Linked DNA regions of Homo sapiens: all the other regions are linked to region 1. Evidence: promoter capture Hi-C in 16 types of primary human blood cells and fetal thymus (Javierre and others, 2016). All regions are on one chromosome and are shown on one strand. Each heading gives the region's core, a stretch centred on a gene start or on the middle of the fragment in contact. The rest is flanking DNA. Distances are from core to core; before and after follow the strand shown.

The links. The method cuts DNA at HindIII sites, captures the fragments that hold promoters and counts their contacts. A CHiCAGO score of 5 or more calls a contact.
Region 2: a fragment that was not itself captured here is called in contact with the fragment with the promoter of ITGB5 in region 1 in 14 of 17 cell types (megakaryocytes, endothelial precursors, M2 macrophages and 11 more); the score reaches 12.9 in megakaryocytes.
Region 3: the fragment with the promoter of UMPS here is called in contact with the fragment with the promoter of ITGB5 in region 1 in 4 of 17 cell types (non-activated CD4 T cells, monocytes, naive CD8 T cells and 1 more); the score reaches 7.0 in non-activated CD4 T cells.

What each region holds. Positions count from the first base shown.
Region 1 is chr3:124,885,002-124,889,477 of GRCh38, reverse strand. It overlaps ITGB5 (integrin subunit beta 5), which reads left to right and starts at 2,113. Exons shown (of 15, transcript NM_002213.5): 1 at 2,113-2,547. The coding sequence starts at 2,478. RefSeq lists enhancers at 1-737, 738-1,620, 3,389-4,273 and silencers at 1,735-2,174, 2,635-2,724. The HindIII fragment of the contact is 6,734 bases long and covers 1-4,476 here.
Region 2 is chr3:124,756,503-124,761,151 of GRCh38, reverse strand. No RefSeq gene overlaps it. Among named protein-coding and RNA genes, the nearest start is that of MIR544B, 26 kb to the right of the region's middle. RefSeq lists enhancers at 407-996, 997-1,586, 3,137-4,106. The HindIII fragment of the contact is 2,142 bases long and covers 2,006-4,147 here.
Region 3 is chr3:124,728,939-124,733,182 of GRCh38, reverse strand. It overlaps UMPS (uridine monophosphate synthetase), which reads right to left and starts at 2,731. Exons shown (of 6, transcript NM_000373.4): 1 at 2,556-2,731. The coding sequence starts at 2,711. MIR544B (microRNA 544b) reads right to left here and starts at 744; the gene lies at 667-744. RefSeq lists enhancers at 2,652-3,061, 2,474-3,073. The HindIII fragment of the contact is 5,140 bases long and covers 1-4,244 here.

The DNA of each region.
Region 1 (4,476 bases), core at 864-3,363:
ATGTACCCAAGGTGGTCGGGGTTACAGTGTGCTTTTATACGTTTTAGGGAGACATGAGACATCAATCAATATGTGTAAGACGTACATTGGTTTGGTTTTGTAAGGCAGGACAACTTGAAGTGGGGGCTTCCAGGTTAGAAGCAGATAAGAGACAAAAGGTTGCATTCTTTTGGGTCCTTGATCAGCCTTCCACTGAATACACAATTTAGTCTGGCTCAGTGAATCTGCATTTTTACATAAACAATAGGCCAGAGGGAGCAATCAGGTATTCATTTGTCTCAGGTGAGCCTCAGAGGGATGACTTTGAGTTCTGTCTGTCCTTTGTCCAAAAGGAATTTCCTGTGGGTAAATTGTGAGGGAGGTATGTAGCTTCTTAGCTATCTTAATTAGGCATAAAATGGGAGGCAGGTTTGCCTGACACGGTTCCCAGCTTGATTTTTCTCCTGGCTTAGTGATTTGGGGGCCCTGAGATTTATTTTCCTTTCACAAATACTATAAAGGAGCTTGCTATGGACTGCTGCATCTTTGCCCCCAGGCACACTATATTGTACTTCAAGAAGTTTACTTCCTCAGGCATTGAGGCACCACCTTGTTAGAGTTTGGGAGGAGGCCAAGAAATAAAGGTTAACATCCAAACTCCTTGAGCTGGGCAGTTAGGACAGTTTTCCACTGGGCCCTCCAAGCCATTCTTCCACCAGGTCCCTGGCCTGCAAAGGTGAGACCCCTTTGTTCTTTCCCCCTTACTGCTTCAGTTTTAGCCAAGCCATGCTGCACTTTTGAACGAGGCATCCTAGCTGTCACTTCCTCCAGCAGTTAACCCCTCTGTCCCTCGGTTCCTCAACTGGATAACAGTAGGGTTGTCGGAGGATGAAATGAGTTAATATGGGTAAAGGACTTAGAACAGTGCCTGGCTGGCAGTGTGCTCTCTGTACTTGGTAGGTATTCTATCGTTATTTTCCCCTACCTGAATGTCGCCTCTTCTCTTGCCTATCAACCACTCCACTCTAAACGCACTTGTAGCGAATCCAAGCCCAAGGCATCCTTTCCTGCACCATCTGAGGAAGACCCCACCCCACTCTTTATTGGCTAGTTCAGATCCAGCTTATATGTAAATGATAAGATGAAAGCCTGAGCATATGTTTTTGAGTCTATCAGTTTGATCATGGAAACTGACAGATTATCAGTAAGGACAACGAAATATAGCGGCATATTGGCCAGTCTCAAATCCTTGAAAGGTGCAAAAGTTAAAAAGTGAAAAGTGGGCCGGGCACGGTGGCTCGCACCTGTAATCTCAGCACTTTAGGAGGCAGACACAGGAGGAATGCTTGAGCCCAGGAGTTCAAGACTAACCTGAGCAACACAGCGAGACCCCCATCTCTACAAAACATGTAAAAATTGTCCGGGTGTGGTGGCGCGCGCCTGTAGTCCCAGTTACTCAGGAGGCTAAGGTGGAGGAACCTTTGAGCCCAGGAGGTCCAGGCTGCAGTGAGCCAAGACTGGGCCAGTGCACTCCAGCCTGAGTGAGAGCAAGACGCTGTCTCAAAAAAAAAAAAAAAAGAAAAGAAAAAGAAATGTAGGTTTTACTTGTGCCTCCACGCCCCACCACGCCCTCCCTTGCTCATCCAGAAGTCGCTTTGCGGTTCCACGCGCGGGCGTCTACGTCCCATCTCAGGCCGCCGGCAGTGAGGCTTTGGGAGGATGAGGCGGTACCGGCACGACCCCCGTACCTGCTCTCCCTCTCGCAGTCTAGCAACCGCCTTTGGCCCAAGTAATCTCGGCTCGCCTAATACAGCGTGCCCCGCCCCTTTCCCGTGGCGACGGGCGGCTAAGCAACGGGAGCGGGCTCTACTCAGTGGTTTCGAGCCCCCCACGCCCCAAGTGAGTCGCAAGCGACTTCCACCTGGGCCCGTAGGGCCTCCGCGTCCCGGGCCGGTCCCCGCACAGGGCGGAGCTGGCCCGGCCCGGAGCTCGCCCCGCCCCGCCTCACCGTAAGCTGACCGTGTGGCGGCCGGGCGAGGGCCTGGCAGGGGAGAGAAGGGGAGGAGAAAGGAGAGGAGGAAAGTGGAGCCTGGCGGGCCGGAGGGAGGAAGGGAAGGGGCGGAGGCCAGGGGCAGAGTGTGCCGGCGCGCGGGGGAGTCTCGGCGCTGGGCGCGTCTCGGAGCCCAAGTCGCGGCCGCCGAGCGGAGCCAGCCCCTCCCCTACCCGGAGCAGCCCGCTGGGGCCGTCCCGAGCGGCGACACACTAGGAGTCCCGGCCGGCCAGCCAGGGCAGCCGCGGTCCCGGGACTCGGCCGTGAGTGCTGCGGGACGGATGGTGGCGGCGGGGCGCGGGCCAGCGCGGGCGCCGTGAGCCGGAGCTGCGCGCGGGGCATGCGGCTGCGGCCCCCGGCCCTCGGCCCCCGCGCTCCGGCCCCAGCCCCGGCCGCCGGCCCCCGCGGAGTGCAGCGACCGCGCCGCCGCTGAGGGAGGCGCCCCACCATGCCGCGGGCCCCGGCGCCGCTGTACGCCTGCCTCCTGGGGCTCTGCGCGCTCCTGCCCCGGCTCGCAGGTAAGCCGCGCCGCCCACGGCGCCCAGAGAAACTTTGTCGCACACTCAGCCGCGGGCGGGCGTCTCGGAGGGGCGGGGAGCGCAGGCGGTGCCTGAGGGCGGAGGGCGCCTTCGGGGCACTCCCTGGTGGGCCAGTCGCTGGGGGACAGCCCCGCGGGGCGCTCCCCGCGCGCAGCCCCGCCGGGCTGTCGTGAGTCTCCTGTTCCCTCCCGGGCTGAGGAGGAGCTTCCCTTCCTGTGTAAACAGGCTGGCCGGCCTGCTGACCTAGCCCGCCAGGGCCCGCGCCCAGGGCACGGGGAGGACCGCCGCCAGCCCTGCCTTGGGGCCCGGGCTCTCCGTTGGCGGGCACAAAGCGGTCCTTGTGGCCGGCCGGGAGCGGGCGGGCTGCTGGGGGGATGCCGTCGGTGCCCTGTTCCCGGAGAAGCAAGGGAGTCTCGAAACCCCAGCCAAAGCCCGGGGCCACCTCCACTCCGGAGGGCTCGCCTCCTGGAACAGCGGGTGCACAGGGCCCACAGCGAATCCTGGAGTTCGCTGCGCCTAGGCTAGCCGCCTGCCTTTGAAGATGCAGCCCCCACCCTCCCCGCCCCCCGCCTGCTTCCTCCTCGCCTAGGCCACCGCAAACCCGAGGGGGCACCCGCGTCCCAAACCACAGCCCCACCTGGGACTTCCCTATTAAATTCCTTCTGCCCGACTTTATCCCGCGATTTGCACACGCTCGGAGCCTCACACTCCCCTAACTGTGGAGGATTCTGGAGCAGAGGACAGGGGCTGTGGAGATTGCCTTAGCCCGACGCTGCGGTGGGCTGGCAGCGTTGCAAGGATCCCTCGGTTACCTGCTCTAACTTTTCAGAGTTGGGAGATGATTGGACGTGGTAGTTTGGAGGCCCTCGAGGAAGGATGCACTTGTTTGGGATGCGGATTTTCTCCTTTCTTTTAGGAAATAATAGTGCTCTATTAACTTTCAAGCCGGAGATACTTGATTGCTCTTGTGAGCCAAGTGGTTGCCTGGCTGCCCGAAGGGAGGACTGTTCCCCCACGGTGTCTCATTTACATGAAGGCAGTGGAGGTTTAGGTTTAAGAGCGGAGGAGGGGTCTGAGCAAACAATAACTTCGTTCAGACCCTAATTCAAACTTAATACTGTAGCAAGGTTTTTGGTTTTTGTTTTAAATGGGAAAATAATCACTCCAGAGCTTGGAGAGTAGATGAGTGGATTCCAAACACCCATCCGGCAGCCAGTGCCCATCACGGATATTTTCATGGGTCCCTAGGGAAAGCGAGGAGCAGGAAGATGTAGCCTGCATCACACAGGAATGTATTGTTGTCAACGCTCCCCTGCTCCACAAGGACTTTCCTTTAGTTTGAAATTAGGCACTTTTTCTTTTTTTGGTGGGAACATTTTCTTTTAATACTTCTTAATAATATTAGTAGTTTTTAATTTTGGCAAAATAAGAAAATCTGACAACCCTATGTTAAGCTCCCCTTCTCTTTTTCTGTTTGTTTCTTTTGTTTTGTTTTTAAATCTTAGTTTTCTTTGAAATCCAAAAGTTCAGAAACTGCCAAAGGAGATGGCTTTTAAGTTCCTTTCCAGCTTGACATTCTGTAATTCTGACAAACAGAATTATAATAATAATTTCTAGTTGCAAATAATTTTTTTTTTTTGAGTCAGAGTTTCAGTCTTGTAGCCCAGGCTGGAGTGCAGTGGTGCCATCTCGGCTCACTGCAACCTCCACCTCCCAGGTTCAAGCAATTCTCCTGGCTTAGCCTCCCAAGTAGCAATGATTACAGGCGCTGCGACCATGCCCGGCTAATTTTTGTATTTTTAGTAGAGATGGGGTTTCACCATGTTGGCTGGGCTGGTCTTGAACTCCTCACTTAAGGTGATCTAACTGCCTTGGCCTCCCAAAGTGCTTCAATTACAGGCATGAGCC
Region 2 (4,649 bases), core at 1,827-4,326, 130 kb after region 1:
TCGAGACCAGCCTGGGCAACACAATGAGACCCTGGCTCTACAAAAAAGAAAAAAAAAAAACCAGGGAATTCTCATTCAGCTTGATTGACTAGTACTTTATTAAACTAACCAATCGCTACCTCTTCCAGGGAAGAAATGTGATTTTTAAATTTGTTTAATTAGGATCAAAGCTTGAGGTGATTATCATGAAACTCTTGGGATGAATTTCAGGTAAGAGCAAACAGATGGGGAAAAACGGGCAGGGAGGACAGAAGGTCCTTCTCTGCTGGAGTATGCCCTTTAGCTCCTCCCTCTCCCTGGAGGACATCCAATACCATGGTTCCTACTTGCTTCTGAGGACATCCTTGTATACTCAGCTGTTATGGAATGGATTGTGTCCCTGCAAAAATGCATTTGTTGTAAGCCCTAAAGCCCCAAAGTGATAGCATTTGGAGATGATGGAGCCTTTAAAGAATGAATTGCGATTAAATGAGGTCATAGGGTGGCACCCTAACTCAATGCAGCTGGTGTCTTTATAAGACCAGGTAGAGACCCCAGGGCTGCAGAGAGGAAAAGCTGTGTGAAGACACAGTGAGAAGGTGGCTGCCTGCAAGCCAACAGGAGAGGCCTTAGGGGAAACCATTTTTGCTGACACTTGATCAACTTCCACAGCCTCCAAAACTATGAGAAAGTTAGTTGTTGAAACCACCCAGTCTGTGATATTTTGTTACGGCAGCCTGAGCAGACTAATACAGCTAGTAACAAGCTTTGAGACTGGCAGAGAGGAGGCGGGGAGAAGTAAAAGACGCAAAGGCAGTGACAGTGACAGTGCTGGGATGAGGCTCCGGAAGAGGTGTTGCGCCTGTGGGGTGTGAGGTGCCTGAGGAAGCTGGGGGTTTGTCCAGTGGGCACTGGAAATGCAGACAGGGCATGGCATGTGAACATGCCTGGAGCTGGGTCACTGCCTGCATGGAGGCTGTGAGCACTCAGACAGCTGTGGCCTGGCTGCGACTCAGCGTTGGGGCTCCGAGGTCCTGGCTGCGACTCAGCGTTGGGGCTCCTCTGGAGGTCCCCCAGCTGAGAAGGCCTAGTTAGGTCTCTCCCACCCGGCATCCTGTTCTCCCCCAGCTCTGGGGCTCCAGACTTCATAGTCAGGACCCAGCTCCTACTCAGGCCTTCAGACCCTCCAGGGGTGCAAACATAAGAGCTGGAGGGAGAAGAATAGGAGAGACAGCTGTGAGGGGGCTGCGCCTGAGGAACAGTTCTTCTCAGCCCCCAGAGGCCCTGCCTGCTCAGTTGCTGCTTTGGGAGGGACCCATGGGAAGGAGGGAAAGACAGTCGCTGCCTGGCCAGCCCCCCATCTGCGAGAGCCACCTCCAAGACGGGTTGGGTGATGTGTCAGTGAGAAGGCCTTCATATCCAATTTCTTTCTCTTGGATGTGAATGTCAGGAAGTCCATCTCTCCCCATGACTGATGCTTCCTTCTGTCATACAATGGGGCCTGTATAATAGGTTTGGTATCTTGATGGTTAGGAAGCTGGGAACTGAATGCATTTAGTGGACCAGAGACTGTTCATAACATGGGGACAAGAGAAAAAGAGGCTCGGGTTCTTAGTGCCACCCCTTTTCCTCTCAACCCAACCCCACTGCCCCCTCCATTAACAACCCCCATCCTCTTCCTACCTTCCCCCTCCACACGTCCTGATCCTTCTGATAGATACCCAGCTGCATAACGTCTTCACTTTAAGATGCCTCGAATTCTTGGTGGAAAAAGGCAAGCTCTAAACAGCAAGGGGCAACCCATCAGGGGCAGCCACCTCACTGACCTGCTACAGTAGGAGTTCCTGACCCTTTTGGGTCATGGGCTGCTTTGACATTCTGGTGAATGCTACAGACACCCTTGTTAGAACAATGCCTATAAATGTGTAACAAAGAAGATGCTAAAAAGTCCAATCCTATTTCTCAGGGTTATCATCTCAGTTTGATTTCAAAAACACCCTCCCTGGAAGACACATCATTGAAAGCTTCATTGGTCCCACCCACATAGAATATCAGATCCCTGTGACTGAAAGCAAACTCCTCATTTGATCCTCACAACTACCCCACAAATACCACATTCAGGGAAGGTATTTCCCCATTTTACAAAAGGGGAGATTGAGAACAGTCACACCTTGAGTGACAGTTGGTGAGACCCAAGCTCAAGAATCCCTTCTCTAGAGTCCTCTGCCCTGCACCTGCTCCTGGAAGAAGTCTGTCTCTTCTTATCCCAGAATTCTGCCGCATGATTGGGGAGTCATCTGAGTCTCTGTCTTGGGGGCATACATCTCTACTGAAATAAAGTGAAGTGCTCTAAGAGCAGACTGATACATTATAAAATGTCTCTCCTTCCTCCTTGAATCTTTCTCTTTTGTCCTCATCACATGAGCAGTCTCTGGTACACACATGTGGAGGCCAAGGCAACTCCATCTTGGAAGTGAATCTGCCATGTTGACTTCTGATTAATTCCTGTTCTGGAAAGCTCTCTAAGATTTCCAGTTTATCTATTGTTCCTTGTGTAAGAGTAGGTACTAACTAAACAACCTTGATGTTATTGTATTTACCACAAGTTCTGCCCTTAAGCCATTGTCCTACACACCCCTTCTTTTCACATCCATCTCTTCCCTGTGGTCTGTAGCCCTAGGTTTAGGGGATAATGGTTCAGGGATCCAACAACTTGTCTCACCACTGCCCAAGAGACAGACATAGCTTCTGTTCTTAAGTCCCTATTAAATATTTCTTTCTGAGAAACTGGGTTTGTCAGGCTCTCTCTTTGACTTCTCAGCTTCCTCAGACTTTGAGGGGTAGGTGTGCACAGGCCTGCCAATGCAGAACAACACACGTTAACAAAAACCCCAGGAACTGTTCTATTTTTTTAAATGAAGGAAGATGACAACTGACACAAATGTCATGTTTCCTCGCACAGAAGTTCAATCCTTCAAAGACTCCTTTCTGTCAGGCCTCTGAGCCCAAGCCAAGCCATCGCATCCCCTTGTGACTTGCACGTATACGCCCAGATGGCCTGAAGTAACTGAAGAATCACAAAAGAAGTGAAAAGGCCCTGCCCCGCCTTAACTGATGACATTCCACCATTGTAATTTGTTCCTGCCCCATCTTAACTGAGTGATTAACCCTGTGAATTTCCTTCTCCTGGCTCAGAAGCTCCCCTACTGAGCACCTTGTGAACCCCGCCCCTGCCCACCAGAGAACAACCCCCTTTGACTGTAATTTTCCATTACCTTCCCAAATCCTATAAAACGGCCGCATCTCCCTTCGCTGACTCTCTTTTCGGACTCAGCCCGCCTGCACCCAAGTGAAATAAACAGCCATGTTGCTCACACAAAGCCTGTCTGGTTGTCTCTTCACATGGACTCGAGTGAAATTTGGTGCCGTGACTCGGATCGGGGGACCTCCCTTGGGAGATCAATCCCCTGTCCTCCTGTTCTTTGCTCCGTGAAAAAGATCCACCTACGACCTCAGGTCCTCAGACCGACCAGCCCAGGAAACATCTCACCAATTTCAAATCCGCTAAGCGGCCACTTTTTACTCTCTCCTCCAACCTCCCTCACTATCCCTCAACCTCTTTCTCCTTTCAATCTTGGCGGCACACTTCAATCTCTCCCTTCTCTTAATTTCAATTCCTTTCATTTTCTGGTAGAGACAAAGGAGACAGGTTTTATCCGTGGACCCAAAACTCCGGCACCGGTCATGGACTGGGAAGGCAGCCTTCCCTTGGTGTTTAATCACTGCAGGGACGCTCTCTGATTATACACTCACGTTTCAAGTGTGTCAGACCACGCAGGGACGCCTGCCTTGGTCCTTCACCCTTAGTGGCAAGTCCCGCTTTTCTGGGGCAGGGGCAAGTACCCCTCAACCCCTTCCCCTTCATCCTTAGCGGCAAGTCCCGCTTTCCTAGGGGGTAAGAACCCCCCAATCGCTTATTTCCGCACCCCAACCTCTTATCTCTGTGCCCCAATCCCTTATTTCTGCACCCTGACCTCTTATCTCTGTGCCCCAATCCCTTATTTCCGTGCCCCAACCCCTTCTCTGCTTCTGGAGGGCAAGAACCCCCCACCCCTTCTCCGTGTCTCTACTCTTTTCTCTGGGCTTGCCTCTTCACTATAGGTAAGCTTCCACCTTCCATTCCTCCTTCTTCTCCCTTAGCCTGTGTTCTCAAAACCTTAAAACCTCTTCAACTCACACCTGACCTAAAACCTAAATGCCTTATTTTCTTCTGCAATGCCGCTTGACCCCAATACAAACTCGACAGTAGTTCCAAATAGCCAGAAAATGGCACTTTCAATTTTTCCATCCTACAAGATCTAAATAGTTCTTGTCGTAAAATGGGCATATGGTCTGAGATGCCTGACGTCCAGGCATTCTTTTACACATCAGTCCCTTCCTAGTCTCTGTGCCCAGTGCAACTCGTCCCAAATCTTCCTTCTTTCCCTCCCGCCTGTCCCCTCAGTCCCAACCCCAAGCGTCGCTGAGTCTTTCTAATCTTCCTTTTCTACAGACCCATCTGACCTCTCCCCTCCTCGCCAGCCCAAGCTAGGCCCCAATTCTTCCTCAGCCTCCGCTCCTCCACCCTATAATCTTTTTATCGCCTCCCCTCCTCACACCTGGTCCGGCTT
Region 3 (4,244 bases), core at 1,482-3,981, 160 kb after region 1:
ATATAGTACTATAGTCAAATATCACTTATTATCACTTATTAAGGGAAGTTAGAGTTTAGCATAAATTATATTGCTTTTTGGGGTGTAAATACTGAGAAATTCTATTCGCATAAGATGTGAAAAGAAGTTTTGTTATACCCAAGTCTCTCCATGTTTTGAACTCCTCCCCAGTTAATCACCAAAATACACACACACACACACACACACACACACACCATGATCTAGTTATCAAAAAACTTTTTCTGTCATTTATCAGCTGGCTTATTAAAATAAATCAATTTTTCCCTAGAAAATCCTTAGTAATTCTCCACATTGCTAAGATACACCATAGCAAGATTCTGGATGGTGAGAAGTTAATGGTCCAAAGTACCGCAACCTTAATAGTCCAACCTATCTTCAATACTTTTTACAATAACCACACAAAGTGGTCCCTAGTGAACATAAACCCTTAAGTGGGCTGAGGAAACTTATATGTCTTCTTGATAGAACTTTCTGCAATGATGGAAATGTTCTCTATCTTTGCAGTCCAATATGATAGCCACTGGCCATATATGACTATTTAAACTTAAAAATTCATAATGCTCAATAGTAACACGTGGCTAGTAGCAAACTGTATTGGAAAGCATATTTACGGCCCTCTACTCAGTGTGGTCTGCAGTTTCAGCTGGCACTTTGTTAGAAATGCACAACCTCAGGTCTAGTCTCAGAGCTACAGAAATGGATTCTGCATTTTAACAAAATTCCCAGGTAATTCATATATACTCAAAGTTGAGAAGCACTGTATTAGAAACCTCTAATTTGTACAAAAATTTTCCTTATATTGACTAAAAACCTGCTTTCCCAATATGTCCACCTTCTAGTCTTAATTATTGCTTCTGGCCGCACAGTGCAAAATTCAACTCCCCTTTCCAAACAGCCCTTCCAAGTGTGGACCTAACAGGAAGAGGCTGAGGCAAAATTAATATGAGTAGTTGCCCTGACTATAGGCTTCGATTACAGTAGTTACAAGTGGATTTTTAAAGCAAAAGAAGGGGCAGTTCCTATATTCACCAAGAATTTGCATTGAAATAACAGGAGGTAGCCCGGGGGTGGCACCAGGCATTTGTAGTCCCAGCTACTTGGGAAGCCGCCAAGGCAAGAGGATCTTTTGAGGCCAGGAGTTTGAGACGAGCCTGGGCAGTATGGTGAGACCTCCTCTCTACAAAAAAAAAAAATTTTTAATTTGGTGGGCATGATGGCACATGCCTGTAGTTCCAGCTACTCAGAGGTTGAGGTAAGAGGATCTCTTTTTTTTTTTTTTTTCTGAGACAGTCTCCCTCTGTTGCCCAGGCTGGAGTGCAGTGGCTCAATTTCGGCTAACTGCAACCTCCTGATTCTTCTGCCTCAGCCTCCTGAGTAGCTGGGATTACAGGTGTGCACCACCATGCCCAGCTAATTTTTGCATTTTCAGTAGAGACAGGGTTTCACCATGTTGGCCAGGCTGGTCTCGAACTCCAGACCTTAAGTGATCCACCCGCCTCAGCCTCCCAAAGAAAGCCTCCCAAAGTTGGGACTACAGGCATGAGCCCCTGTGCTCACCCGAGGCAAGAAGATCTCTTAAGCCCAGGAGTTCCAGGCTGCAGTGAGCTATGATCACAGAGCTGCACTCCAGCCTGGGTGACGTAAGAGAGATCCCATCTAAAAAATAAATAAATAAAATAATAACACAAGCGATTGATTAGCTATACATTGTTCTTTGTATCACACATTCCAGGTACATTAAGATAATGGGAGAGGCAGCTAGTCAGGGACAAAATTCCTTTAAATAATTGTCCCGGGGCTGCATAGGGGAGTATGGTTGAAGTCTCTCTGGGCTCTGATAAATTTTGTATACATCACAGAGTTCTGGTTGTTCTATTTTCCTTTTCTCACCAGTAATTTCCCAGCTACTGAATTCTCTGCCTACCCACGTTTTCCCGGTCTATTTGTTTGTTTTTTGAGGGCAGGGTCTCACTTGTCGCCCAGGCTGGAGTGCAGTGGCGCAATGACAGCTCATTGCAGCCTTGACCTCCCAGGCTCAGGTGATCCTCCCACCTCAGCGTCCCAGGCGTGCGCCACCACACCCAGCTAATTTTTTGTAGAGACGGGGTCTCGTCATGTTGCCCAGGCTGGTCTCGAACTCCTGGGGCTCAGGTGATCTGCCCACTTAGGCATCCCAAAGTGCTGGTATTACTCTCATGAGGCACCACGCCCGGCCGCAAGTCTAATTTTCTTAAAGAGTTAAATATACAGAATTCATTCAAGTGTGCTTCAGTGCCAGAAAGCGTTCCAAACTGGGTTTCCCGACTTTTGCAAAACACGTGTCTAAGCGTGTGGGTGAAAGAACAGACGACTCTCGAGGAGCCCAACCCCTGGCCTCTGTGCTTCTCATGCTTACTCCCCAAACCAAGAGTAGGGTCGGTCTGCCTGCTTGGCTCTTTTGCTCTCACTCACGGCCCAACTCCTGTCACCCTCTTCCATTTCCTTGTCCTCCTTCCCGCCACCAAGCCCTGTCCTTTCCCTTCCTAGGCCAGCACCTGACTCAGAAGACGCGGTCGAGACACGATGCCCCGCAGATCGATGTAGATGGGGGAGGAAAGCCCGCTCTTCAGCACGAAGTCCCCAAACTTGAAAGCCTGCACGTCGTACAGACCCGTCACCAATGGCCCCAAAGCTGCACGAGCGACCGCCATTGTCGCGCGCTGCCTGTTTGCTTCAAATTCCCAGGCGCCCCGGGCCTCCGGCGCCCCGATGACGTCACCCGCGAAGTCCCGCCTCTTCCGCCTGCCTCGTCTGCAGCTTTCCCGGCTTGCTGCACCCGTGGGTTTCCCCGGGCTCAAGGGTCAGGTGGATGGTAGCGAACCTAGCGCCAGTTTGTGCTTCTCCTGGTTTCTTCTGGATGGGGTCGCTGGGGTTCAAAGCCCAGAACAGCTAGATTGACTGTAGGATCATGAAGTCCCACCTTTCATGAGAGTTTGCATAAATCCTGTCCATTTTTTAATAGCCAATGCCTTCTCGACTAGTTCTCTTAATTATCTCTACTCCTTGGCCTAACATGTTATATTTGCTAGTTATTAGCCAAGATTTACCCCCCATGTTTCTCCAAATAGAATATAAGTTATCAAAGACAGGGACCTTTACTCAATTCTTTTATTAACTTCATAGCATCTAGTACGTGACAGTTCCATAGCAGTTTGCACATAGGAATATATAGCACTTAGATCATTACAGTATTCATTACCTCTTTTGTCTGTACTCTGCTTCCTGGAGGAGTACTTTTTTATTTCCTTTGGCGTACCTCAAATGCTTAGGTAATAGGTGTAGAAAAGGTAAGGGAGGGAAGGAGGAGAGTTAGAAGACGGTTAATTGATTGGTATCAGGGTTATCCAGGAGGATAATATTGCTAGACAATCTGAAAATCCAAACATATTTGGTCTTTACAAATAAATCCCTTAAAGAAATAATCAATAAATAATCTGTACAAATAAATCCCTTCTCCATTGTGTATATAAGGCAATACTTTATTCTAGCTTAAGGAAAATAACCCTTAAATTCACATAAAGAATGAAACCTTGTCATTTGCAGCAAGGTGGATGAACCTGAAGGACATTATGTTAGTGAAACAAGCCAGGAACAGGAAGATAAATACCAAATGTTCTCGCTCATATGCAGAAGCTAAAAAAGTTGATCTCATGGAGCTAGAGAATAAAATAGTAATCACTAGAGGCTGGGAAGGGTAGGGGGTGGTTAAAGGACACAAATTACAGCTAGATAGGAGGAATAAGTCCTAGTGTTCCATTGCACTGTAGGGTGACTGTAGTCAATAATAATTTACTATATATTTTAAAATAGCTAGAAGAGGGGCGTTTGAATGTTCCCAACACAAAGAAAGGATAAATATTTAAGGTGAGGAATATATGAATTACTCTGATTTGATCACTGTACATTGTGTGTATTGAAATAGCACTATGTACCCAATAAATGTGTACGATATCATGTGTCAACTATAACAAATACTTTTTTAAAAAAGAGGAACAGATAAGGCATAGCTGTATAGTGCACTACAAAGAACATGAAGTTTCAAACCAAAACATTTGGATTTTAGTCCCATTCTACTTACTGGCTGAGTGATCTTTGGCAATGCATTTTGAGCTATATGAGTCTCAATTTTCTCAAAAATAGAATGAAGAAGCCGGGCGCGGTGGCTCACGCCTGTAATCCCAGCA